Linked DNA regions of Homo sapiens: region 1 is linked to region 2. Evidence: promoter capture Hi-C in 16 types of primary human blood cells and fetal thymus (Javierre and others, 2016). All regions are on one chromosome and are shown on one strand. The core of a region is centred on a gene start or on the middle of the fragment in contact, and the rest is flanking DNA. Distances in the headings are between cores, read along the strand shown.

What was found. The method cuts DNA at HindIII sites, captures the fragments that hold promoters and counts their contacts. A CHiCAGO score of 5 or more calls a contact.
Region 1: a contact is called between the fragment with the promoter of FOXN4 here and the fragment with the promoter of SVOP in region 2, in 9 of 17 cell types (total CD4 T cells, erythroblasts, activated CD4 T cells and 6 more). The highest score is 9.3, in total CD4 T cells.

The regions. Positions count from the first base shown.
Region 1 is chr12:109,307,997-109,311,269 of GRCh38, reverse strand. It overlaps FOXN4 (forkhead box N4), which reads left to right and starts at 1,986. Exons shown (of 10, transcript NM_213596.3): 1 at 1,986-2,151; 2 at 2,946-3,034. The coding sequence starts at 2,949. It also overlaps a transcript of MYO1H not described here. The HindIII fragment of the contact is 5,817 bases long and covers 1-3,273 here.
Region 2 is chr12:109,019,348-109,022,435 of GRCh38, reverse strand. It overlaps SVOP (SV2 related protein), which reads left to right and starts at 1,368. Exons shown (of 16, transcript NM_018711.5): 1 at 1,368-1,602. The coding sequence starts at 1,568. The HindIII fragment of the contact is 11,834 bases long and covers 1-3,088 here.

The DNA of each region.
Region 1 (3,273 bases), core at 737-3,236, 290 kb before region 2:
TGTCTTTTAGTGAAGGATTCTTGCTTTTCTTTTCCATATTTCATGAGTCTACAGAACTCACAGACTGGATGCCTTTTATTTTAAAAACTTTACTGAATCCATCAGCTTTCAGAAGAGACAATTTCTTTCCAAACCATTCTGAAGATATAAAATTACACCTTAATGAAAATGACTGTGACCTCACAAGGAGGTTGTCAAGTCACCCACGTTTCCTTACAACTCCAAGAAGGATTAACAGAAATAAACCCAAATGCTTTGAATGCTTACAACTTTACTGGTGAATTAATTATATGTCATTCAGGGACATTCAAAGCAACATAAACTATGTAAACCACTTTCCTAACCGGTCAAAACACACATTTTAAATACATGCTGGTCGCGGGAGATGAAAACTGAGAAAGTTTCATGACTGTGACCTCAACTAACATCTGTAAACTACATCTTTTTCCTCCCTAGAGAATGAAAGCTGATCTATTTACTCCTGGCAGAGAAGAAAGGAGGAAGGACGTCCAGGTGCTACCAGAAAACCATTTGTGAGGACATGGACCAGTGCCAAGGTCACAGCCCACCTGAATAGAACTTGAAATCCAGGCACACCCAGTCCAGGGGAGCCCTGAGTTCTTCCTGAACTTAAACACTGGGTTTAAAAAAAAAAAAACAGTCACAGGTGCGGGGACACTGGTCCCCTGCCTGCTGCGAAGTAGATAACGCGAGGACAGCCTCAAAACAACTCCAGACGCTTCGGGTGCCTGAGCCTCACTCGGTGGGGGCGGCGCAGAGGTCCACGTGCAGTACGCGAGCTGGGGAGGTGCGGGAGCCCGCGCTCTGCCCGTGCGCCGCCGACCCACTCACTGCCGCTCGGGGCTTTGGGTTCCCCCCATGCAAAAGGAGGACCATGCTATGTCATCAAGGGCTGATGCGAAGAAGAACCCAGAAGCAGGCGTCAATAAGTAACGAAAGAATGGGGGTAGCCGTGCCTAATATCGTTGCTGCCGTGGCAATTACTGCAACGGAGGCTTGAGAGTTAGGGCGCCAGAAACGCAAACTTTCCAGGGGACCAAACTCATCCAAGCCTCCTAAGGGGCCTGTGGAGACCTCTGCCCGCTCTGGGCCCCGCCGCCGTCCGCGGTCCGCGCCACCTTTCCCGCGGCTGGCTCCAGGCGGGGCGGGGCAGCGGCGGCGCGGGCCGGGCGGCGGGGAAGGGAGGGAGCGCGGTTGCACACGCGGGCCACTGCCCCCAACGGCTGCGCTGGGCTCGCGGCGCCGTACCCCGAACGCCGCAGCCTCCGCCTCCGCCGCCGCCGCCACCGCCACCGCCACCGCCGTCGCCGTCGTCGCGGCTGCCGGGGCCGCCGAGCCCCGCCGCACTCGCTCCGGGCGGGCTCACCCTCCTCGCGGGACAGGGGGGCGCAGCGCGCAGTCCCGGGGAGCCCTCCTCGCCTCGCCGCCGCGCTGGGCCCGGGCCCCCCCTCGCGGCCCCAGCAGGTGGAGGCGCCCCGCGCCCCGCTCCGCAGCCCCCTCCCGCTGCGCGCCAGCCCGCGCGGGCGCAACTTTCTTAAAGGGACAGGTGGACCGAATCCGCGTCCACCTGGGGCCCCGTCTCTGCCTCCCGGCCCGTCCTCCACTTTGGGGGAGAGAGGGGGTTGCAACAGATCTCTCCGCCCGCCCACGTCCTTTGCCCCAGGCGGGATTGCAAGTTTTAATGCACCCAGCCTCCTTTTGCAACTTAATTCCCTTGGCCGAAATCACCCTCCCACTGCTCCTCAACGCATGCTCTCGGGCATGCAGTTGTTGTCACTGTTGGCAAAGTTTGAAGAGGGGTCCCTACCCCTGCACTCCTCCGCCCCGCCCCCCTCACACACACCCCCCCCCCAGAACCCCGGGGCGTGCAAGGCTCGCGGCTGCTGGGAAACGCCCGCTGCAATCCCCTTGACCCTGCCCTGTAACTGACCCTTGGGGAAAAGCCCCCCGCACGGCTACTGCGCATGCTCTGAGCTGGACAGCTCCAGAGAGGGAAATTTAAAAACGGTTCGAGCTGCGACGGCGGCCAAATTGCGGAACGCGAGGGGCGAGCGCGAGGGAGCCCCCCTCCGGAACCCCTGCCCACCCCCGGAGCGCCGGCAGCGGCGGCCCCGCGAGGATCGGCTCCAGGTACCGCCTTGCAGGGTCGGCTTTGCTCCCTCCTCCCGGGCAATGCCGGGCATTGCATTTCCAGGGTAGAGACCCGGGCGCAGGGGCTGCGGGGCCGCCTCCCTCTGCTCCCTTTTCCTCCTTCCTGGGAATCCTTCGATGGCTTTGGGGGCGGAACTGAGGCTTTGGTGGGCTTTTATGTTGGTTCAGGCTTGGAGTTTGAGAAACTTAGGGAACTCAAATATTTTTATTATTTTTTTAAGGCAGTGTTTGTGTGTTGCGGGGACGTGGGTGGTTGGATTGGTTTTCCAGTAAGGGCTTGTGGCATTTCTGAAGGCATTTCAGGGCAGGAGCTTGCGGGGATTATTCCCTTTGCAAGTGGGAATTTGTTCCCCCAGAGAAATACACATGTCACATCCAGCTGCCCCTTATTTTGAAAGTGATCATAACCAAACTGAGGTTGAAAATATAAGGCTTGGAAGGAAATCGTTTTTCTGATTCCTATTTTGTGAGTCCACATTTTCCAGGTTTGACATTTGGATTCTAGAGCTTCCCTTGCTCTTCCCCCATTAATTCGAAAGAACCGGGAATTTCATTTCATTCTCTTCATTTGTTTCTAAAACGCTGTAGAATTGCCCTGGGAAAGTGACCTGAGATGCCCAGGAATCCTCTAGAACTTTTTTCTTTAAAGAAAAAAAAAGTGTTCTGTGAGTTGATTGTGCTCCATCTTTCTGAATTGCGGGAAAACTGTGGGTTTCTGCCCTGTCCATATCGTCGCTGATGGGAGCTTTGTTTTCTGCTTGTCTTTTCCCAAGGAGATGATAGAAAGTGACACCTCATCCATAATGTCAGGAATTATTCGAAACTCAGGGCAAAATCACCACCCCTCTCCACAGGAATACAGGTGAGGGCTCCAACAATAACAAACTATATATTTTTTAATTGCTCAAAGTGTTTGTATGCTGTTTATGGTTTCTGAAACTGCCCAAGAACTATTGTTATGTTCAATTCTGTGATTTTTGCGGGAGAGCTGGAAAGTCTTGATTTCAATGTTGGTCTTGCTAAGGGTGTCTGGGCCACAACCTGGCCCAGTGGGACCACGAAATGCCTGCTGTCTCTTGTCCCCTCCAAAAGAGGTCCGTT
Region 2 (3,088 bases), core at 119-2,618:
ATTGTTTTCAGTTCTCAGATTGGTTTTCTTGTTCCCTCTTCCAACTTCCCCCACCCTTTGTCAACAATTAAAGAAAAAAAGAAAAAAATGTTTCCTTCTTCCTTTAGTTCCTTGTAAGTGTCCATTCAACGGTCATTCTCATAGCTTTTGCCAGTTGCCATCATGGATCATCTTAGTAGTTTTCTGTTGTATAATTTTCCAGCTTTTCTTTTCATTTGTTCACACTTGATCAGGGGTTTCCACTTCATGGTGCTGGGGAGCTTTTAAAAAATACCCTGAGGCCGGGCGCAATGGCTCACATCTATAATCCCAGCATTTTGGGAGGCCGAGATGGGAGGATTGCTTGAGGCCAGGAGTTCTAGATCAGCCTGGGCAACAAAGCAAGACCCCATCTCTACAATAAATAAATTAGCTGGGTATGCTGGGATGAGCCTGTGATCCCAGCTACTAGGGAGGTTGAGGTGGGAGGATTGCTTTAGCCCAGGTGGTTGGGGCTGTAATGAGCCATGATCATGCCACTGCAACTCCAGCCTGGGCAACAGAGCAAGAACTTGTCTCAAAAATAAATAAATAAATATTGAAAAAATAAAAAATACCCAGGCTTGGCCTCCACCTCCCGAGAGTTGAGTTCAATTGGTTTGAAATGGAGCCAGGCAATTCTTATATGCAGCCTGAACTGAGAACCATTTATTCAACAAATATTTATGGGGTACCTTCTATGTGCCAGACACTGTTCTAGTACTTGGGACACATCAGTGAAACCTCATGGAGCTTAAGTTCTAAAGGGGTCAGAAATTCTAGTGAGAGGTGGCTTAGGGGAACCATTAAACTATCTAGGATCTTGAAGGCAGAGACTTTATTTTACTCATGTTTTTATTCCCCAGGGTCAGGGCTGTAGAATTCACCCAATAACGCTTGTTGAAAGAATGAGTGATCTTTGGCCTTCTCATACCTAATTTACATTTTTCTTTTCTTGATTCATTTCACTAGACCCTTAGCTCCACGATGACAATGACAGGTCGAATTTGTTCTGTCATACCCCCAGTGCCTATTACAGTGCCTGGCACATAGGTGCTCAGTAAACCGTACTTAAATGCATGCCTGTATTTGTTACAGCAGCCTGGGTTTCAAGAGTGTTATACGGATAACATTAATGAATCCACGCAAATAAACATTTAGACACGCATCGTCAATCAAAGGGTGCTCACTGGTACCCGGACAACCATTTCACAGACTGGTGTGCCCTATAGGCATCCCAGTGATACACCATCAGCCAGAGAGCCTGTGAACTCTTCCAAGCAGAAGGGCTCTCCCTGCCCCCTCTCCCCGCGCAGCTCGCTCTGCCCTCCGCCTCCTCTTCTCCGCCCACTCTCGCCGCGGTCTCCTGGCGGCGGAGGCTTTGTCTCGTGGGCTGGTCCCCAGCGGCTCCCTCCCCGAACAGCTGCTGCTCCAGGGAGGAAGCGGCGCGGGTGCTGTCCAGCTTCCCGGTGCTGAAAACCGGAGGGCTCGTCATCCACCACTACCATGTAAGGGCCATGAGAAGGGCTCATCCTGGCGCAGCGCGGACATGGAGGAGGACTTATTCCAGCTAAGGCAGCTGCCGTGAGTATCATGGGGGCGAGCAAGAGGCAGACAGGCTTTCTTTTAAAAAACGAAAACCTGCAAGGGGGGTGGGGGGGGGTACATCTCTGCATGGTTTCTTGAATTTAAAGGGAACTGTTTCAGAGGAAGGAATTAGGGCCTGGAGGAGACAAGCCATTTTCTTTCCCCAGCAGCCCAGCCTCTGTATCTCTGACTCAGTTCCATTTATCAGATCTGTCAGGACCTTATGGGGGAACCACGGGGGTTATGATTCCCCTTTTAATTGCTCTCAATCCTAAAAGGATTTTCAGATGTGAGCTTTAAGAAAGCATTAGCTGCTGTTTTGAAATGTGGACAGAATTGGTGAGTCTATGCAATGACATCGGTCCTTTCCAGCCCTAATCCTATGCTGTGAAATCCATAATTTTTCTGCAAGGTCTTTTGGAAGGGAATGATACTGATGCTGCAAACTGGTTGATAAAAAAAACTGGGATGCCTTCCTAGAGGAGAGGGTTGGGCAAAGTCCTGTTGTTTATGAAGTGTGTGAATGAGAGGGCTGTGCACGGTCGGTGAAACCTCTTGCCTTCTTCTGAATGAAAGGTTTTTGTAGCAGCTAGCTAGAGTGAGACTCACTGTCGGAACATCAGGAATATACTGCTTTGAGGATGGCGATTTTTAAGAAAAACCAAATTTGCTCTGAGAATCTGGGGGAAATATCAAGCAACCGAAAGGACAGGGGCCTTGTAGAGGGGCTTACAGATTTTTCCTACCACAAGCAGATAGTGATTTGTTAAGTAAATTCCAAGAGTATGAGAGGGGGCATTAAAAAGAACATTGGTGGGGCAGGGGTTGTTTTAATTTTTAGAAGCACTAGCCATTTGAGTGGTAAGAGTAGATTCCCTTTGGGATTGTTAGAAAGGATAAATTATAGTTAGTGTGTGTGTATTTTCTTGATTTTAAAAATGGTGGATTATTTTTTTCTATAATCTACTGAGGAATTCTCCCAAGTGACTTTTAGTGTGACTGATACAGTTCTCTGAGGCTGTGAGTACTGAAGGGGATTGTAATGTTTACTTTTCAATCAGAGTAAAATTAGTTTTCACCAAAATTTTTAATTAATTTAAAATTTGCTTTAAAGTTTTACTAATTGATCCACAAATAGTATATCTGATTATGTAATACAGCATTATTTCACAAATGCTAGAGGATGTTCAGTAATAATATCCAGACGTAGATATAACAGTACATAAAAATGTAAAGGTCTGATTACAAATTTCCCAAGGAAAACATACAACTTTTATTGAGAATAAATATCATGTTCAAAAATAAAATGATTACCCCCAATAAAAAATAATTTAATATCAGAAATGTGAACTTTGGTACTCAGAATTAGACTACATATTGGAACTGTGGTTTTCCTGGGATAAATTTTTCAATAATGTCAGAGGATGTGAACTTTTCAAAGATTCATGTGTATATGAACTTTGCAAAAGGGTCATGTATATTT